Linked DNA regions of Homo sapiens: region 1 is linked to region 2. Evidence: promoter capture Hi-C in human tissues and cell types (Jung and others, 2019). All regions are on one chromosome and are shown on one strand. Each heading gives the region's core, a stretch centred on a gene start or on the middle of the fragment in contact. The rest is flanking DNA. Distances are from core to core; before and after follow the strand shown. Region 1 has its middle 71 kb from the start of GOSR1. Region 2 holds the start of SLC6A4 (solute carrier family 6 member 4).

What was found. The method cuts DNA at HindIII sites, captures the fragments that hold promoters and counts their contacts. A contact is called where the count stands out against the background at its distance.
Region 1: a contact is called between a fragment that was not itself captured here and the fragment with the promoter of SLC6A4 in region 2, in 4 of the 25 tissues and cell types used here (IMR-90 fibroblasts, dorsolateral prefrontal cortex, mesenchymal stem cells and 1 more).

Annotation. Positions count from the first base shown.
Region 1 is chr17:30,546,118-30,550,795 of GRCh38, forward strand. No RefSeq gene overlaps it. Among named protein-coding and RNA genes, the nearest start is that of GOSR1, 71 kb to the left of the region's middle. The HindIII fragment of the contact is 6,952 bases long and covers 1-4,678 here.
Region 2 is chr17:30,234,447-30,238,766 of GRCh38, forward strand. It overlaps SLC6A4 (solute carrier family 6 member 4), which reads right to left and starts at 1,251. Exons shown (of 15, transcript NM_001045.6): 1 at 1,167-1,251. LOC105371720 (a long non-coding RNA gene) reads left to right here and starts at 3,052. Exons shown (of 3, transcript XR_007065698.1): 1 at 3,052-3,325; 2 at 3,874-4,320. RefSeq lists promoters at 1,035-3,061, 1,035-2,819, 1,035-1,329, 1,225-3,049, 1,230-3,075 and 1 more, cis regulatory regions at 1,330-2,819, 1,691-2,515, 2,392-2,431, 2,659-2,829, 2,698-2,717 and 2 more, a silencer at 1,485-1,667 and an enhancer at 3,883-4,320. The HindIII fragment of the contact is 6,948 bases long and covers 1-3,777 here.

The DNA of each region.
Region 1 (4,678 bases), core at 1,737-4,236, 310 kb after region 2:
GTACTTCTGGGTGAAATGTTAGCTCTGTTTTAAGTTCTTTGAGAAAACTCCAAACTGCTTTCCACAGTGGCTGAACTAATTTACATTCCCACCAACAGTGTGTAAGCATTGCCTTTGCTCCATGGTTTCACCAGTGCCTGTTGTTTTTTGGCTTTTTAATAGTAGCCATTCTGTCTAGTGTGAAATGGGATCTCATGTGGTTTTGATTTGCATTTGTCTAATGATTAGTGATGATGGGCATTTTTTCATATGCTTGTTGTCCACTTGTATGTCTTCTTTAGAGAAGTGTCTTTTCATGTCTTTTGCCCATTTTGTAGTGGGGTTATTTGGGGTTTTTATTGCTTGCTGATTTGTTCAAGTTTTTTATAGATTTGGATATTAGGCCTTTGTTGGGTGCCTAGCTTGTGAATATTTTCTCCCATGGTGTAGGCTGTCTGTTTACTCTGTTGATGGTTTCTTTTGCTGTGCAGAAACTCTTTATTATAAAGTGTATAAAATTTATAATCAATAAATGTACATTTGCCGATTCAATAAGTCAATCACATTTATTGATTTACAACATAATTTACTTAGGTCCCACTTGTCACTTTTTATTTTTGTTGCAATTGCTTTTGGAGACGTAGCCAAAAATTCTTTGGCAAGGCTGATGTAGAGAAGGATATTTCCTAGGTTTTCTTCTAGGATTTTTATAGTTTGAGGTCTTATATTTAAATCCATGGTAGGATAGCACCTCCCTGTCCCTTTGAAGTGAACCATGTTACCTGCTGTGAGCAGTGAAGTGGAGCAGAAGTCACAGGTGCCATTTCTGGGCAGAAGCTTTGAAGGGACCATGGTGAGCCACCCCATCATTTCTTCTGCCTAAGCAGTTTTGGGGGCACAGAAGTCGGGTGTTATGGGCTGAATTGTGTCCCCCACCCCCAAGTTGATACGTTGAAGTCCTAACCCCAAGTGCCTCAGAATGGGATTGTGTTTGGAGATGGGACCTTTAAAGGTGTAATTAAGGGGAAACGAGGTCATATGGGTGAGCCCTCATCCAATCTGTCTGGTGTCCTTATAAGGAGAGGAGATGAGGACACAGACACAGACCGAAGACCACATGGAGACACAGACAAGAGGGTGGCCACTTATAAGCCAAGGAGCCAGGCCTTAGAAGAAACCGATTCTGCTGATACCTTAGTCTTGGACTTCTGGGACCCCGAACTGTGAGAAACAATATTTCTGTTATTTAAGACCTCCATCTGTGGTATATTCTTACCGTAGCCCTAGCAAACTCGTATTGATTTTTGATACCAGGAAGTGGAATGCTGCTCTAAAAAATACGCAAAAATGTGCAAGTGGATAATGAGTAGAGGCTGGAAGAGTTTGGAGGTGCATGCTGCAAAGGCCTAGATGGTCTTTTTTATATGTTTAATTTCTGGTCAAAAATATTTTAGTTGTTTTATAGAGTTCTGGGAAAATAATTACCTAAGGAAAAGAAATAGCATTGCTTATAGGCGGGTTTGAATATTAGCCCTGTAGCTTTGCTGAGAAATTGAGAAATTCTTCTTGGTTAGAGTCCTGAATTACATTAAATGGAGGGATAGGGTTAAGGTGTTTATTTTGTGTTTTTTGCTTTCAGCTTGGTGTTTTTGGTTGTTGTTGTTGCCCCAAGTGAGTCCAAAACCCAACCGGGAAAAGAACATTAAATCTTAAAACTTGAGAACCTTCTTTGACTCCATGGCCCATGTTCCAGATATACTAGGATGTGGTTGGGCGGCCCAGGGCTTCAGGTGGCTCTTCCCCCATGGCTTTGCTGGGTGCAGCCCAGGCAGCAGCTCTCACATGTTGGAGTTTGATGCCTGAGGCTCTCCCAGGGTGGACTTGCACACTGCTGGCTCTACCATCCTGGAATCTTGGGGATAGCCTCTTCCCCACGGCTCTGCTGGGCATTGCCCTAGTGGGAACGTTCTGTGGTGTCCCTGCCCCTGTGGCAGTTTTCTGCCTGACCCCAAGGCTGTCTGGGACATACTTTGAAATGCAGGTGGAGGCAGCCATATCCCACAGCTATTGCACTCTGCACACCTGCAGAATGAGCACCACGTGGATGCTCCAAAGAGTTTTCTGCCTGTGTCCTCTGGAGGGGTGATAGCATGTCCCCCACTCCACCAGGGCCCATTGAGCAACACTTGGAGCAGCCAAGGAGCACCACAGCACAGTGTGGGAACCAGCGACTTCAGGGAGTGCTGGGCAGCAAGCCCCAAGGTCCTCAGGGGTCCTCAGGGCGCCCCAGGGCCTTTCTTGGAAACCGTACTGCCGTCAGTGCCCTGGCACCATGGGCCTGTGACGAGAGTGCGGCCTGAGTGATCCACACAATGCCTTCAGGGTCGCTCTTCCATTGTCCTGGTGAGGAGCACAGCCCTGATCCACGCAGGCCTCCTGACCCACACCCTCGTGTTCGCTCCCAAACACACTTTCTTATCTGTTCAAAACGGGCAGGCTGAGAAGGCTAAAAGTTTCCCAAATCTTTAAGTTCTGCTTCCCTTTTGATTATAAGTTCTGTCTCTAAATCATTCCTCTTTTTCTTTCATTTTCCTATAAACGTTCAAGACAATCAAGCCGCTCCTTCAATACTTTGCTGAGATATTTCTTCTGCCAAATTTCAGTTACATCACTCACAAGTTCTGCCTTCCACCAAACACTAGTGCTTTGCCACTTTATGGCAAGCGTCACTCACCTTTCCTCCAGTTTCCATTTACCTCTTCTTGATTTCCATCTGAGACTTCATCAGAATGACCTTTCCTTTCCATATTCTTTTTTTTTTGTTTGTTTTTTAGAGACTGGGAGCCACCGACATGCCAGGAGACAGGCCTGGAACAGAACCTTCCTGCACAGCCTCAGAAGAAACCCACCCTGCTGACACTTTGATCTTGGACTCATGGCCTCCAGTACTGTGAGACAGTAAGATTCTGTTGTTGAAGGTGCCCAGTCTGTGGTACTGTAAAACAGCCCTAGGAAACTAACATAGCCTATTAGCCTACAGGGTGAAGAGATGGAATTCGCAATGGACCTCCAGGCTTACTGTCTACAGCTCCCAAAGTGTGCTGTCGGACCCTTGGGTGTGTGTAGGTATGCAAGATAATTTTGGGTGGTGCAGAGTGAATAATGTCAACTTACATAATGGATTTATCTTACTGGATAAATCACGGGTTCCCTCCTGTTTGGAACCAGGCTGCACAGCAGGAGGTGAGCAGCCAGCCAGTGAGCAAAGCTTCATCTGTAGAAACAGCCGCTCCCCATCCCTTGCATTACCACATGAGCTGTGTCTCCTGTCAGATGAGTGGTGCCATTAGATTCTCATAGGAGCATGAACCCTACTGTGAACTGCGCATGCCAGGGATCTAGGTTGTGTGCTCCTTATGAAATCTAATGCCTGATGATCTGTCACTGTCTCCCATCACCCCCAGATGGGACCATCTAGTTGCAGGAAAACAAGCTCAGTGTTCCTACTTATTCTACATTATGGTGAATGGTATAATTATTTCATTATATATTACAGTGAAATAATAATAGAAATAAAGTGCACAATAAATGTAATGGGCTTGAATCATCTCCGCATCATCCTTTCCCCTTCTCCCGGGTCCGTGGAAAAGTCTTCCATGAAACTGGTCTCTGGGACCAAAAAGGTTGGGGACCACCGGTATAAATGCTTCTAAGAATAGTTAAGCAAATTAAGGTTTACATGCTGCTAAAAATATGGGTTTCAATGCTAAGAAAAATGGATGCACGTGAAAACACTCTCTTGCTGTGGTCCAGGGAATCTAAACCATTCTAACAGAGAAACGTGCAGCTTGGAGCTGGAGCTGCCCTCCGACATCCTGTCCACCTCATATCCCTGCACCACACACGCATGCACACATGCAAGCAGACATGTACACATGCATACGTGCATGCACATGAACGCACACACACGCACACATGCACATAAATACACGTGCATATACCTGCACACACACACACTCACACACACACACACACTCTCACTGTGCTTCATGCCCTAAGGTGGCCTGGGAGGGAATGCGTGTTTTTAAGGGGAATGAAGATGACTCAGGCCCCTCGTTCTCCTGGCGTTTGCACCAGTGTCTTCTCTGCAGACCATGCTTCAGTCTCTTTCTTGGCTCTCTCTCTTAGTGAAAGCAAGAAGCAGAGCCCCTGCGTGTACCTGGCTGCTTAGGGTGCAAGCCAAGTTCACAAGCTTCCCGGGGAGCCTGGTGAGAAGAAGGCACTGCAGAGCCTCCCCAAAAGAGGCGTCAACTTTTGGTGGATCCTTGAGCCTGGGAAAATGATAGACGGGACATCACAGTTCATCAGAAGACACAAACAAAATCCACTCAGGAAGAGCAGCAGTCAAAGGTTTTATTCTCTCGGAGAAGGTTCTCGGGGGCTGTAAGCAGCAGGCAGAAGACTTTATTGCATGTGTGGTTAGGTGATGGCAACCTCCAGTTTTCACTGGGAACTGGGATCAAGAGTGACCCGACCTCCTCCGCAGCCCCTAGGGATGAGTCAGCTGCCTCTTCTGCATGCTGACAAACCTTGGCTCTCATTTATGCCCCACCGCAAGCCAGCCACACCCCTGCCTCACCAGCATAACCACCTCCTCCTGACTTTAGCCCTGACAGCACTGCTTCCTGGTAACCTTCCC
Region 2 (4,320 bases), core at 1-2,500:
AACGGTCACTGCCACCCCAGAGTGCGTGGCAGGAAAACCCGAACCCTGGGGCCTCAGTGGCTTCACACAGAAGCAAGTAATGGGACAAAGAGTCAAAGCTGTGTGCTCCCTACGCTCCTAAAAACCCAACACTGACGCTGCCCACAGTTCTCTGTTTCATTAAACACAAGTCCCAATGTCACCTTCTTAGACATTTTTCCTATGTAACTGAAGGCAAAACACATTAAATATTTGCTCTCGTCTTCCTATGATGAGAGTTAGCTAGCAGGCTCATAAATAATCCATTGACCAGGTTCACTTTTCTGGACAAAACTGATGGTAAAAATACATACACAAAGTCTTTGTAATGTCTGATTCAGAAATTCTACCCCTCTCAAATTCTTCAGAGTCCCAAATGGAAAAGGAACAATTCAATATGCAAAAGCCCCAGTTCAGAAGAAAATCTGCTCCTTAGCCCAAGACCCAAATCCACTCTTGAGCTCCAGAGAGCTTTTTTTCAAGAACAAGTTTGAATGTACACAATTTTCAAGCAAATGATGGTTATATCCTTCAACCACGTAGCACAGTCGTTGGAGTTGGAGTTTCACATACATTCTGAATGGCCTGTGAGGTGTCTGAGAGCGCCTCAGCTCTGACAGTGAAACCACCCAAGCGCACGGAGACTCGGCCCACTTAGGCGCCACTCAGAGATTTCTCTAGCTGTCTGGGCATTTGTGTCAACCAGAACTCTCCCTTTGCATAAAGCCACCTGCACGCGATGACAGCAAAGTAAAGATCAAACATAAACCATGGGTTGAAACGAAAGCAAGCAACTCTTCCCAAAGCGCAGGACAGCACTTTGCTCAAGACCCTCTTTAAGGGGTCTTTCACGGGTCCTCAAGAGGTTGCAAAGCCCCTGCAACAATAGACAAAGGAGCCCCCTACGCCCGCCCACTTCGAGCACTCCACGTTCCTCGTCTCCCACTCTGGCCGGTCAGCTTCAGCTCTGGCTCTTGCTGAGCGTGGAGGGCGCAGGGGCAGGATCCGGCGCCCACCGCTGGGGCGCATGCACCTCCTCGCCTCCTCGCAGGGCGGTGGGGCGCAGCGGTTCTATCCCCCTCCCCGAGGCGGGGAAGAAGGTCTGGAAAGAAACGTGGGTTCGAGGCGGAGAGGAAAAGCGGACCCACCTGCCAGGCTGCGCGGGGAGGCTGGTCCCGGGCTGGGCAGGCGGGCTGGCCTCGCGCCCTCGAGGCACCCGGCGGCGCTGGCTGTGCGGAGGGGCGCCGGCGCGGCCGTATTTGTACCCGCGGGCCCTCACATGGTCTGATCTCTAGATAGCCGCCGCCAAAGAGCTCTTGAAGAATTTTTGCGTCACTTTGAGGCGAATAAACTTAATGCTTCCCCGCGGCCGCGGCTCCGCGCTCCCGCTGGATGGGGTTGCGCTCGCCAGGGAGGGGCCGCGCTACGGGGCGGGGTGCGCGCCCGACCCCAGAGCCAGGAGGGGAGGGACCCCCGACACACACACACGCTCGCAGGGAGGAGCGGAGCGCGGAGCAGCCGGCAGGGCAGGGCCGAGCGAGGAATCCTGACTTTCCTGCTCTTTAACTTTGCGGGAGGGGGGAGGCTGCACAAAGGAGCAGGTGTGCGCCTCCCCTGCCGCCCCGCGCCCACAGGACGGCACACAGGGGTCTGCTCGTGCCGCTTTCTCTTGACCTCGGACACCTCCCCATCGTCCCCATCCCGAAAGCTGCTCTCTCTTTCTTCCTGGGACCTAGCAGTACTCGATACCCATGCGTTTATCTGACTGACCGGCTGGGATGTGAGCTCAGCTTAGAGGCCCTTGTCTAATTCCTCTCCGTCCCCAGAGTCTCACAATAAAGACTTCCACAATGAAGGAATGAAGAACTGGTTCTCATTTTGTTAACCAGCTACAGTTCAAAGCTGCGTCAAAAAGGAGCACAGTGCTTTGGGAGGCTGAGGCGGGAGGATTGCTTGAGCCCAGGAATTCAAGACCAGCCTGGGCAACACAGCAAGACCCCATCTCTAGAAAAAAAATTTTTTTAATTAGCCGGGCGTGGTTGCTCGCGCTTGTGTTCCCAGCTACTCAGGAGGCTGAGGTGGAGGATCAGCTGAGCCCGGGAGGTCGAGGCTGCAGTGAGCCGTGATCGAACCACTGCACTCCAACCTGGTGACAATTTGAATTATCTGAAAGGGCCCAGCAGGAGCCTATTGTTTTGAACCATGTGCATGTAGTTTTGATAATTTTTTCAAAAAGTTTAAAAATTGATTTAATGTTAATATCCTTTTTGCTAAAATTATTTAAAACTTTAAAAAGGGCACATGCAGTACTTGCTTTGGGTTGTCCCTGAGGCGGAAAGGAGAGGGCTCTACCTCTCCCCAAGAGGAGGCCAGGAACGATAGGAAGTAGAAGACCGAAAGGAAATAGCAGTGACAAGTTTGCAGCTCCAGAGAAGCCACCGCCCCTTGTACTTGGAGGAACTGACCCCTGAAAACTGTGCGGCCGGTTGGGCTGAGCGTCTAGAGGGACTGAGCTGGACAACCACGGGCAAGCGAGGGCAGCTCCCAGCGGGTGGAGTCCGCGCGGGATTCTGGTGCCACCTAGACGCCAGGGCGGGGACCGCAAGGTGGGCGGGAGGCTTGGAGGCCGGGATGCGGGGGAATACTGGTAGGGTGCAAGGAGAATGCTGGAGGGGTGCAGGGGGGATGCCGGGGGTGCATGGGGGGATGCTGGGGGGTGCAGGGGGGATACTGCGAGGGGTGCAGGGGGGATAATGGGGGTTGCAGGGGAGATCCTGGGAGAGGTGCAGGGGGATGCTGGAAGGGCTGCAGGGGGGATGCTGGGGGTGCAGGGGAGATGCTGGGGGGGCTGCAGGGGGGATGCTGGGGGTGCAGGGGGGATGCCGCGAGGGGTGAAGGGGGGGATAATGGGGGATGCAGGAGCGATCCTAGGAGGGGTACAGGGAGTTGCTGGGAGGTTGCAGGGGGGATGCTGGGAGGGCTGCAGTAGGGACATTAGGGGTTAGGTGCTGGCATTCAGAGCGGCAACGCCAGGCGGGAGAATCCCCAACAAGCTTGGGAATTTCACCCCCAGGGGCAGCGCCTGCACGGGAGTGGGGCCTCCTCCTTTCAGATGAACACAGTTGTCTGCTGCCTCCCACGTTCCACTTCTTAAATGAGCATGTTTGTGCTGTATAGGCAAGGGCAACAGAAAACGCAAAGTGTCCTTTCCAGGAGGGCCAAAGGAGGGGGGCAGGGACGCTGGGAAGAGGCGCCAAAGCGGAGGACGGCTGCAGGGGTGACTTCAGCGCTTGGCTACCAAGACCAGGTCTGTCCAGTGTGACTTCTTAGCACTTCTTAATTGTGCAGTCTCGCCACTTCTGATCTTCCTTCTAGACTCTTTCTAGCCGAAGATGCATTCCTGCCCAGCGCGCAGCCCCTCCCTATGGCACTGCCCTGTTCTGTGCAGGTGCTGCCTAGAGAGTGGGCACCCTGTGGACCTGGGTCAAATCCCGGCCCCCACCCTGTACTGTGGTGTGGGCTTGACCGAGCTCCTTAACCTCAAGCTGTCTGGCCTTTGTGTCTCTGTTTGTGAAGTAGGGAGGATGATCTCAGTGGGCACTGCCCAGCTGTGGGTGGGGAAGGGGCCAACTCCTTGCAGGCCCTGTGCGCTGGGCCCTTCCTCCAAGGGGGCCTTCGACCCCTCCTCTCTCTGGCCGGGTGGTCCCATCTCCTCCCCTCTTGCTCCCCAGCTGCGGGCAACCACCATTAGCAAATGACATTAGAATTACACAGACGGCCCCGCCCTGGTTCCCCCTGCCTCCATGGCAGAGTCCGCACACAACTGGCCCAGACCCTCCCCCTCTCTCTAAACAGGTGTTTCTCTTCCTCCTGCCCTGGGTACCATCCCACAGAGAGGCCAGGCCCACCTGCAGGTCCTCACCTCCACAGAGCCAGCCTCTCTTGAGCAGCTCCGCTCTGCCTTCTGATACTCATCGCCACAAGCACCTTGTCCTTCCTCGGCCTCCCACTCCCTCCCTCTGAGCCCGCGCCCTGCTCCCCTGCCTGGCGGTCAGTCGACTGCCCCGCCCCGCCTCCAATTCAGGTGGACAGGCTTCAGCGTCCACTACCGGGGAAGAGGCAGCCCCGCACCCGTGCCTCCCCCCGCCTCTGGGCCGCTCCTTCCCAGCCTGAGCCTGACCGCATGAGGAAGGCACAACCTCTCTGCTCCAGAGACCTGGAGAGGCCGGGAGGCCCTGTCCTGGGCATGGAAGGCAGGAGGGAGCCCTGAGTGCGGCAGGAGGGAAGCAGCGCTTCAGGGGA